2 separate regions of the Homo sapiens genome follow, and region 1 is linked to region 2. Evidence: promoter capture Hi-C in 16 types of primary human blood cells and fetal thymus (Javierre and others, 2016). All regions are on one chromosome and are shown on one strand. Each heading gives the region's core, a stretch centred on a gene start or on the middle of the fragment in contact. The rest is flanking DNA. Distances are from core to core; before and after follow the strand shown. Region 1 overlaps NUDT7 (nudix hydrolase 7). Region 2 holds the start of DYNLRB2 (dynein light chain roadblock-type 2).

What was found. The method cuts DNA at HindIII sites, captures the fragments that hold promoters and counts their contacts. A CHiCAGO score of 5 or more calls a contact.
Region 1: a contact is called between a fragment that was not itself captured here and the fragment with the promoter of DYNLRB2 in region 2, in 2 of 17 cell types (naive B cells and total B cells). The highest score is 6.4, in naive B cells.

The regions. Positions count from the first base shown.
Region 1 is chr16:77,724,624-77,730,493 of GRCh38, forward strand. It overlaps NUDT7 (nudix hydrolase 7), which reads left to right. Exons shown (of 4, transcript NM_001105663.3): 2 at 808-961. Among named protein-coding and RNA genes, the nearest start is that of NUDT7, 5.0 kb to the left of the region's middle. The HindIII fragment of the contact is 1,893 bases long and covers 751-2,643 here.
Region 2 is chr16:80,538,070-80,543,946 of GRCh38, forward strand. It overlaps DYNLRB2 (dynein light chain roadblock-type 2), which reads left to right and starts at 2,924. Exons shown (of 4, transcript NM_130897.3): 1 at 2,924-3,010; 2 at 5,207-5,282. The coding sequence starts at 3,008. The region is part of intron 1 of DYNLRB2-AS1 (DYNLRB2 antisense RNA 1); the gene reads right to left. RefSeq lists an enhancer at 2,975-3,064. The HindIII fragment of the contact is 6,420 bases long and covers 1-4,190 here.

The sequences.
Region 1 (5,870 bases), core at 447-2,946, 2.8 Mb before region 2:
TACATCTGAAAAGATCCTATTTCTGAATAAAGTCACACTCTGAAGTTTGGGGTAGACATGAATTTCAGGGGTGAGGGGATACTGTTCAACCCACTATACAAACTAGCAGTAGAACACACCTGTCAAAAGGACCAAAACAAGTCCACATAGGAAGGGCACCATTTGCGGTTTTAAATCCAAATGCTTGCATATTATTGGGAAATTGTTCTCAGAATGTGTTCCCCTGTCCACAGCGTCAGTAACGCTGTCATGAGGGAGTTTGATACAAATGCTAATTCTCAGGCCCTACACCAGAGTTACTGAGTCACAGTCTGGGACTGAACCTCGCAGTCTATGTGACAGCCAGCGCTCCAGGTGATTCTGTTGCTGCTAAAGCTTGGGAACCACTATTATAAGCAGTTGAAGACATAAGAGTTTGAGAACATAAGGGCCAGCTTAACAGAAGGTAGTCTTCTAACCTTCTAACCTTAACAATGACTTTTTCATCAAACCTGTCTTCTCTGAATATAATTATGGGTTTCAAAATTCAACTGTTGCATTATTGAAAAAACATTTTACCATACTTTATGTTTCAAAGAGAACCTGTGTACTAAACTGTGTGCTTAGAAGGTTTTTTTGTCATTTTCATCTTGCGAACAACCACGCAATTTAGATAGTATCATTTCTGTCGTGTTATTGAAAAATACACAGAGAGTCAGAAATGGCAAACTCCTAAATACACAACAAAGCAGAAACAGAGGCAGGACTATAAGCTTTTTACCATAACTCTGCTTGCTAAAATGTCTGTCTGGTTTGTTTTTATTTTAGAAACAGTTTGCTAGATGATGCTAAGGCCCGCTTAAGAAAGTATGATATTGGAGGCAAATATTCTCACTTGCCATATAACAAATACTCCGTCCTTTTGCCATTGGTGGCTAAAGAAGGAAAACTCCATTTGTTGTTCACCGTCCGGTCAGAGAAGGTAGGTGGACAAAAAATTTCCTGCCCTTAAACCTCAGGACATCAGAAGACCTCACGAGATTTTGTCACTTGCACACACTTTGATGCCAAAATTCTCAAAAGGGCTTTCAAAATTGTGATGTCAGAGGCATACAACCACAAGCCACAGGATAACATGGTGTTTCTTGGAGAAGGTTTAACAAGAAAATGAAGGAATTTAGCTAGCAAGCAGTTTAAAACGCTTTCACACTAGGGTTACCTAACCTTGGTGCTATTGGCATTTGGGGCTGAATAATTCTTTGGTGTGGAGGCTGTCCTGTATAATGTGGTGTGTTTACCATCATCCTTGGCCTCTACCCACCAGATGCCAGTAGCACACACAAACACAAGCTCACACACACCTTTGTCCCTTTGTCCAGTATGCCAGTAGCACACACACCACAAATGTCTTCAGAATTGCCTACTATCCTGGCAGGATTGGGGGTGCCAAATTGCCCCCCACCAAGGGCCACTGTTTTAGACTATCCCACCCCCAGTATAATGTGAAAATACTAGAGCATAGAAGTTAACGGCCTAGGCTCTAAAGCTAGCTGTCCACGTTGAATCCAGGCTCTCTCCTTGCCAGCTGTGACTTTGGCCTCGTTACTTGCCCTCTCTGTACTTCAGTCTTTTCACTTGTAAAATGAGGACAAAATATTAGTAACTGCTTCATACAGCTGCTATGAACATTTCACAGGGTAACAAATGTAAAGCACCTATATAACCCAGGTACTTGGCAAGGAAGAATTCAGTAAGTTTTAGCTGTCATCGTTAGTGTCAAGTGACCTGTCAGACATGACCTGAAGTTTTAAGATAAATGATGTCACTTTACAGAAATAATGGGCTGGGAATGGAGTTTCTGGCTCACCCCTTGTATTGGTCCATTCTTGCATTGCTATAACGAAATACCTGAGGCTGGGTATGGTGGCTCAAGCATGTAATCCCAGCACTTTGAGAGGCCAAGGTGGGAGGATCACGAGGTCAGCAGTTCGAGACAAGCCTGACCAACATAGTGAAACCCCATCTCTACTAAAAATACAAAAGAATTAGCCAGGCATGGTGGCACACACCTGTAATCCCAGCTACTCAGGAGGCTGAGGCAGGAGAAACACTTGAAACCAGGAGGCGGAGGTTGCAGTGAGCCGAGATTGTGCCACTGCGCTCCAGCCTGAGGAACAGCGAGACTCCATCTCAAAAAAAGAAAGAAAGAAAGAAAAAGAAATATCTGAGTCTGGGTAATTTATAAAGAAAAGAGGTTTCATTGAGTCATGGTTCTGCAGGCTGTACAGGAAGCATGACACAGGCATCTGCTCAGTTTCTGGAAAGGCCTCAGGGAGTGTACCATCATGGCAGAGGGGGAGCAGGAGCAAGAGAGAGAGCAGGGAAATACCACACACTTTTAAATGGCCCCGGATCTCATGAGAACTCACTCACTATCATGGGGACAGTGCCAAGATGATGGTGCTAAACCATGCGTGAGAAATCTGCCCCTGTGATCCAGTCACCTCCAACCAGACCCCACCTCCAACACTGGGGACTCCAGTTCAACATGAGATTTGGGCAAGGACAAATATCGAAACTCTACCACCCCCACACCCGTGAGCACAGTCAGTTTCCCTTGCTGTGGGGAACTTCCAAGGAAAAGCTGGTGAAGCAGTCATTTTAAGCTTATCCAAGTACAAAAAGAAAATAAGCCATATTAACAGGCTTTTTAAGCAGAATAATGAAAAGTATTTTGTTTAAAAAAAAAATGCCAAGGAATCAGCTGGAGTTTTGTGGACGTGGAAGTAGACTTGTGTGGATTGTGTTCGGTCTGAGCCAGGCAGAAATGCCGTGAACTCAGGACATGATAGAAATCCAGGTTCCAGGGGGAAATACTTAAATGGAAACCAGGGGACCAGTGTCTGTTCCCACCTCTGCCAATAAGCACAGGAGAAGCACTTACATATATTTTTTAAAATTATCAGATATGGCCGTGTGCGGTGGCTCACGCCTGTAATCCCAGCACTTTGGGAGGCTGAGGTGGGCGGATCACCTGAGGTCAGGAGTTCGAGACCAGTCTGGCCAACATGGCGAAACCCTGTCTCTACTAAAAATACAAAAAATTAGCCAGGCGTGGTGGTGGGTGCCTGTAATCCCAGCTACTGGGGAGGCTGAGGCAGGGAGAATCACTTGAACCTGGGAGGTGGAGGTTGCATTGAGCCGAGATCGTGCCACTGCACTCCAGCCTGGGCAACAGAGCAAGACTCCATCTCAATAATGAATAAATAAATAAAAATAAATAAATAAATAAAAGAGAATTGTCTAACAAACAATAATATAGGAAATCTAGACAATACTACAAACTCAACCAACGGGGTCTCTAGTTTCTTTTGTTTCACCCAGAGCCACTTTTGCCTGTTGATTATTAAGGTCACTTTTTAAAAACTATTTAAATTTAATTCAATCTGATTGTAAACACTATCTGGCTGTAGGGGTGAGAAATTCCCTCTGGAGCTCTACTGGAGCTCTGCCCCTCACACAAGCAGGGCGCTGGTAGGAGATTTCCCCCCAGTGGATGGGGAAAGCAAGGCAAGAAGTGGGTTAACCCTTCTCAAATGTGCAATCTCCCACTAGCTCTGGAACCTCGAACAAGTTTTTCTTTTTTTTCAGAAGGATTCTCGCTCTGTCGCCCAGGCTGGAGTGCAGTGGCGTGATCTCAGCTCACTGCAACCTCCGCCTCTTGGGTTCAAGCAATTCTCCCACCTCAGCCTCCCAATTAGCTGGGATTACAGGTGCACGCCACCACGCCTGGCTAATTTTTGTATTTTTAGTAGAGAGGGAGTTTCACCATGTTGGTTGGCCAGGCTGATCTTGACCTCCTGATCTCAGGTGATCTGCCCATCTTGGCCTCCCAAAGTGCTGAGATGACAAGCGTGTGCCACCACGCCCAGCCTGCAAAGTTCGTAAATCTCTTAATCACCTCGGTTTTCTCATCCCTAAAATGGGCCTGAAAACAGCGCCTCATGTGCAAGGTTGTTCTGAGCCTGAAAGAGATCTGTAAAACGCCCAGCACGGCTGCTGGCATGCCATAGTGCTGCATGCTGTTGGATGCTACCTATGTTTTCGTTATCTCCTTGTCCGGGTCCACCTTGGATAAGGGACTCCTCTCAGAACCCTAGATCCCTGGTGCCCAGCAAAGAGCTGGCAAACCCCTTTCTCCATTGCACACCTGGGCACAGCCCTTCAGGCCTTCAAAGCCACCCACTTTATAGTTTTCAGGAATTAGCTGCTCTGCATTATCGGTCCTGCTCTTCTCCCCCACACCCTTGACCTCGCATCCCTCCTCTGTCCCCTCTTCTACCCTCCTCCACCCTCCTCCCTGCACCCCATTCTCTGGGACTGGAAGTAGGCAAGAGAAAATTCAGGAACAAAGCAAAGATTGAAGTCTTAGGAAATTAGGCTGCAGCTTTACTTGGCCTCTGAGTAGCATTTCAGAAGGTTTTATTGAATAAGAAATGTATACTATTTATCAAAAAAATAACTGACCGCTTTTGTGCTTAGAGCCCTTTGCAGTGCTAATAGTTTTTGATTAGTCAGTTTTAGAAATGTGCCTGTTTTCTTCAAAACAGCGTAATATTTTCTTTTTTAAAAACAAAATTAAATAGATTTATCTTTTTAGATTTAAATAGATTTAACTTGTAGAGATTTATCCTGTACAATATGATGCTTTGAAGTATATATTCACTGTGGAATGACTAAATCTAGCTAATTAATTTACTACCTCACATCATAGTAACATACTACTTCACATAGTAACATATCACCACACACAATACCTCACATAGTAACATATTACTATACATATTACCTCACATAGTAACATATCACCATATACATCATATAGTAACATGTCATCATACATATTTTCTTCAAAATAGCATATTTTCTTTAAAAAAAAATTTAGGCCAGGCATGGCTCACACCTGTAATCCCAGCATTTTGAGAGGCCAAGGTGTGGGGATCACCTGAGGTCAGGAGTTTGAGACCAGCCTGGCCAACATGGTGAAACCCCATCTCTACTAAAAATGCAAAATTAGCTGGGTGTGGTGGTGCACACCTGTAGTTCCAGCTACTCGCGAGGCTGAGGCAGGAGAATCGCTTGAACCTAGAAGGCAGAGGTTGCAGTGAACCGAGATTATCCCACTGCACTCCAGCCTGGGCAACAGAGCGAGACTCTATCTCAATAAATAAATAAATAAATAAATTTTAAATCAACAGATAAAATTGTATAGATTTATCCTGTACAACATGATGTTTTGAAGTATATATTCACTATGGAATGACTAAATCTAGCTAATCAATGTACTAACTCACATAGTAACATATTACCACACACATTACCTCACATAGTAACATATTAACACATATACTACCTCATATGGTAACATATCACCACACACATTACCTCACATAGTAACATATTAACACACATACCTCATATGGTAACATGTCACCACACATAACATACTATCTCACATAGTCATCATCTTTGCACTAAGAACACTTTATATCCATTCAGCAATTTTCAAGAATACAGTATGTTAACTATAGTTACCATAGTATACAATACATCTCTCGAATTTATTCCTCCTGACTGGCTGAAACTTTTTATCTTTTGACCAACATCTCCCCAACCTCCCCCCAAACCACCTCAGCAGCTAGTAACCACCATTCTACTCTCTACTTCTCTGAGACTGACTTTTTAATATTCCACATATGAATGAGATCATGTGGCATCTGTGACTGGCTTATTTTACCTAACATAATTTCCTCCAGGTTCATCCATGTTGTCACAAATGACAGGATTTCCTTCTTTTTTATGACTGAATAATATTCCTCTCTGTATATACA
Region 2 (5,877 bases), core at 1,674-4,173:
CCTCAAACTCCCAGCCTCAAGTGATCCTCTTGCCTCAGCCTCCCAAGTAGCTGGGAATACAGGCATATACCACCACGCCCAGCCTTTTTTTTTTTTTTTTTTTGATTTTTAGTAGAAATTATGTCTTGCTTTGTTGCCCAGGCTGTTCTCAAACTACCGGCCTTAAGCAATCCTCCTGCCTCAGCTCCCAAAACACTGGGGTTACAGATGAAAGCCACCATGCCTGGCCTGTGAACATGTTAGAAGAATGTAGTGTCTATTTTCTGGAGGGAAACCAGTAGAATACCAGGAGAAGTTCTGGTAAGTGACAAACAATGCCTTACCTTATGAGAAAATGGGCACAAAATTTATTCTACAGCCCAGTTCATAATATTTGCCAACTGCCAAGAATGCCAAAGATAGCTATATGGGTTGGTATAGAAAATACCAAAAAAAAAACTCAAGATCATTAAGTTATCTGGATTTCTTCAAGCTAACCAGAGAGCAGTAGCAAAGTATCAAACAGCAAGAGAGACTCCCAGAAGAAAATCATCTCCTTCTAACAAAATCATATGTGAAAAATAGTGGACTTGGTCTCTGCATGTATCACTTTTGGGGTTAAGTCAGAGTACTTGCAAAAACTATTATTCACTAATATTTTCACTTACGTTCAAAGTTATTTAGCACTTATTGTGAGTCAAAAAGAAAGGCCGAGGGGATGGGAGAAAGAGGAGAGGGTAAAAGGGGAATTCACATATATTGGGGATGGAGTAGGAAACATGTAAGACATTGCAAAGACACTTTATATAGCACAGCTCTGGATATTCATTACAGGTCCAAAAAAGGCATGAAAATTAAACCGAGCTACCTCCAAGGAATAATTAGAAGTGAAAAATTGATAAAGGGGAAATGGCTCAAGTTCTCCTCATTGATTTTCTGTGCACAGAGTCAAACTTGACTGTTGGTTGGAAGTCAGTTTGGCTACTTCTTATTTCTTTTTCAGCAGTTGGGTTCTCCCGTCAGTGCGTTTTATGCTAGAATCGTTCTTTGCTCTAATTACAGCTGTCAGCTATTGAATGAGCTTGACATCCTGACTCCAGAAACAAGGAAATTCACACTCCATGCATATGCAGTTGGTTCCTTCATTAAAGCTGATTGACATATCAGACATGGTGCACTGTCACTGATTTTTGTAAGAAAAACAAACGGCTACACAATCAAGTGGAATCTCCTTGATCAGAAACACCCAGAGAACCCAAGAATCACTCTTCATTCAACTCAGCCAGTATTTCTGTAAAGACCTATTATTTGTATTACTGCAAAATGGTAGCTATAGTCAATCAGGTAAGAGCCAGATCTGTACACACATGCATGCATACACACACAAGCACACAAATGCACACGCACACGCACACACCAGACTCAGACTCCTTCCCCACAGCTATAGCAGTCCTTTCCAAAGCAACTTTGTTGGAGTACCAGGTGTTGAGAGTCAAGCGGGATTCTTTGGCTAGTAATAGTGAACTGGCTGAGATATACAGATTTCTTGGAGGGAAAAAAAGGAGAGAACTACAGTGATCAGAATCACCCACACCTCAACAAAAATTAGAGCAGAACTACAGTTTCTCAGAGTATTTCTGTAGTTAATATAATAAAATGACAGATGTGGAGTTGAAATGGATCATCGAGTCCAAGCCTGCCAATGAGTTCAAAACTGTCCCAGAGCACCCCTAACATGGACCATTCAGAATCCAGTTGACATTCCTAGCACGATGTATGCCTTGTTCAGTGTGAGACTACTTTCTGGAAATGGATGCACAAACAGAATCGGTATTACAGGAAGTTGTTATGGCATGATCCCTATGAAGATGCATTCCCAACTTACAGCTTGTATTTTGTAATCAATATTTGTCCTCCTCTAACCTCAGGAAGTCATAACACGACTCCAGCCATAAAATTTTCCTGCTGTGCTTCGTCGTACAATAGTGGCTCTTTTCCTCCTAGGCTATAAGGATATTATCAATGTCCCTCAAAAGGTCAAGTGACTTCTGATCATTCCTAACTGATCTTTAACGTGTTTCCTCCAACAGTTCCTTAAACACCCAATGGAATGCTCTTCTATGGCAACGTATAGAACCTCCGGAACTACCATTTGCAATTTTTTAGTAACTCAGAACTGTTGATTTTTAAAATGGCAAAAATACAGATCCTAATGGATACTGACAACTAACAGAAATACTGACAAGTAGCAACTCTTCAATGGAGTTGAGAACAGGAAGAGGGTGCTATAACTAGGTGAGAACATAAAATGTGCAACTGTGCTTACTCTACTGATCTTAGAGTAGACAGATAGAAAGTAATTTTTTTAAGTACATAAGGTTGTACTATTTGATGCTCTGATATATTTTTCTTCAATATAAAAACTACTGGGAGGCGAGCGAACAGTATCTGCCCTGAACAGGGCAGTACTAATGGACGGTCACAGGCAGCTAAGACTATCACCAAACCCCTAGAGCAGCCCAACCCCGAAGTCAGATGGTCCTGTCCCCTCCTTACTTGCTCCAGGGCAAGTATCACACGTGGACATTACTGCTTCCGGTACTGTTTCGTGCATTTTGTTTGGTGCATTTTGTCCGTCTCCCTGGCACCTGGTGGGTGGTGAATCAGCAGTTTTTGAACGAATAAGTGGTTATCACATTAATTCGTGCCTCAATGAATGAATGAATGGACAAACACAGGCCGGGAGCCTGACCCACTTCCCTCTTCCCTCCCGGGACCCACTGCTCCAGGATTGGGCGAACCTCAGGTGAGCGCCTGCTCCCCTCTTCCGCGAACCTTCGCCTACGGCGGCCGGGAGGCATCAGGAGCGCGGTCAGGGCGAAAAAGCCGACTCGCGAGCGCGCAGGCGCAGCCCTGACGCTTCCGTGGGGCCACTTCCTTTTTTGTCTCCTAGCAACGGCGGGTAGCGTTGTTGACATCCCGGGAGGCTGTGCCGCCGGCCTGAGCCCAGAGTTTCGCGGCCTCCGCGATGGTAAATCTGGGGTCTCCGTCCACGCCCCGCCGTTCCAAGCACGCCGACCGTCAAGGACCTTCGCACCCAGCTTCTGGGGCCCACCCAGGCACGGGCGGTCCAGGGGCCGCGGCGGAGGCTGGTGGCTCCAGGATCTTCCTGGAGGGGCGAGAGGGAGACCTTGGAAAGGGGCAAGAAGATGTCTAGATGACTGGAAGCTGTTTTGGGAATTGATTTCGCGGGGATGGTACATAAGGAGGGGTGATGTTGAGAAAGGGAAGAGAGAGATTCAGAGGATGAAGAATGCTCAGGGGAGTGAGAAATCCGGGGAGCCAGGAAAGTTTCCAAAGAGGGGGCGGGAGGCCGAGATGGAGAGGAAAAAAAATCAGACCCTTAGAGAGAAGGAAGAGGTGGGACAGGGAAAGCAAGGGAATGGAAGGGTGAGAAGGGAAGATACTGAGAAAGAAGAAAGGGAAATAAAGAAAAAGGAAAGAAGTGATGGGAGACCCGCCCCCCTCCCCCCCAGAAAAAGAGGTAAGAAAAAAAAAAGTAGAGACTGTGGAAAGCAAAGGGCGTTAAGAGAAGAATGAAACGGGGATTGGAGATGGGGATTAAGAAATTATACTAGGAGCACTTACAAATCATGAGAAGAGAAACAACTGGGTGGAGAAATGGAAAGGCCAGGGAAAGAAAAGAAAGGAGTTTGGGAGATAAGTAAAGGGAGAAAGATAAATAAGGACACAGTGGCTGTAAGAAGCTGTGGACATCGTCTTAAAGATTGCCCAAAATGCAGTGAATTATTGATCCCCTGTTCAACGCTTACGGTTTAGTGTAGTGTTTCTCAAAGTCAGATGCAAACATTCGTTGCTACATAAGATGGCCGAGAAATGCTAAATAAGAGTGAATCACATCGTGAGAAAGTTATTCCTCTTCCATTTTGTTCAACCTTCAGACTACATACAGGAGAAAATTTCTGTTGCTATTAGGTCCTTAATACCACTGTCATTTGGAAATTTCCATTTTTTCATCCGAAGAGCAGGCCTCAGGCTCAGAGCTTTCATTGCAGTAGAATTTAATGATAGGCTCTCTCTTCATTTTGTTCATTTTGTTTGTTTTACAGTTATTTCTATTTATGAGGAATAACGTCAGGTTTCCATTTGTGGTAGTGACATACGATTTCCTCTTAAAATGCATTTATTTAAGCTTTTAGCAGTGAGATAATTTAAAGAACACCTAGATAAATAGTATACATGGCATTCATAATGGCAAGAATCATGAATCTAGTACACAAATGCCTAAAGTCAAGAAAACCTTGGCTCTGATGCTGAAATAGAGAAAATAAGTGCTCCTGCCCATACCAAGTACAAAGGAAAACTATCTTGAAGTAACAAAATGTTCACCTGTGCAATACTGAGGAAAAAAGAATATAGCAAACCCTCATCAAGAGAATTTGCAGAATTCAAAATATCCAGTGATTGCTCAGTCATGAAAAATTTGCAGGTTTGGAAAAGATCGTTCTTGTCTTTGAGTTTTCTACAGGGGAAGAAAACATACAATACACTCTACACATAAGATTCCGAATGAGTTTAAAACACAATAATAGATTCCAGAATAATCACTCATAGTTGAACATTCAGCTTGCACTGAGACGCAAGCTATAGTTATCAAGAAAATCCTAGAATCCTGGAATACTTTGTTTTTATAGACTATCCTTTAAATTTAATCATCCGAACTGATTAGGTCACATTAATGAAAATAAGATTTCTCAATAAGGACTACTTTTAGACAGAGGGAGGCCATGATATAGCTCTATAAATATTTAAAGCACTGTAATGTAGAAAAGGAATTTTCATTTGAATACAGCAGGGTCAATGAATGAAAGATAATCTGGGACAAATTTCCATGCAATGTAAAGAATACTTTTCTAGTAAATGGAAACAGATAAAAATGGAGTGAACTCCTGTGAGGCAGTAAGCTCTCTGTCTCTACAAGGGTTCAAGCCAAGAGATTCATCAGGATTGTATCCAGGAGGTCTTACGTAGGTATTTATGTGGGACTTGACAATTTCTAAGCTGTCTTTTAAAAATCTGAGATTATCACACCTGGCACCTTAGGTTAAGGAGATAGGAGAGTAGGTATCTTGCTAAACATTATTCTCCTTAGGGTTGAAGTTACCACAGGGCCCTTTTGGTTAATTATCTTCCTGGTCTCTTTCAGGCAGAGGTGGAGGAAACCTTAAAGAGGATCCAGAGTCATAAAGGGGTTATTGGAACTATGGTTGTAAATGCAGAAGGTAAATATATCACAGGCTGTCTTCTTGACACACAGAAGCCAACCAGGAACCTGTTTGCCGTGTTAGTCCTTAAGACAAACATCTTCGAATTTGACATCAAAAATATATTTATATATTTTAGCTCTGGCATTCACTTACCAAACATCTATTGAGTATCTGTTATATGCCAAACACTCTGCTAAGATCTGGGGGCATAAATATGAATAAGACATGTCTAAAAATCTCTATATACTCCTAAGAAGCACTATACATTGTTTACTTTTTAAAGCTTTGGTAATTCTCTTCCAACATTTCAGAAGTGCCAATAAAACTATCATATAGAAGATAGGGAGAATATCATTGTTGGTGGGTTGTTTGCGTTTCAACATTATGAACCATACAGAATTTCAGTGTTTATTTTAAATGGAACTTGTTCCTTGAACATATTTTATTTAAAAATCTTTGAGAATTAACGATATCATTTATAATATAGTCTTTGTGGATATAGCATAAGAAGGCCCTACATATTTCCAACTATGAAATCTGTAGACTTACCAGAAACTTGCTCTTGCTGCACGATCCTTGTTAAGAATCCACATCACATTTACTTTGGCAC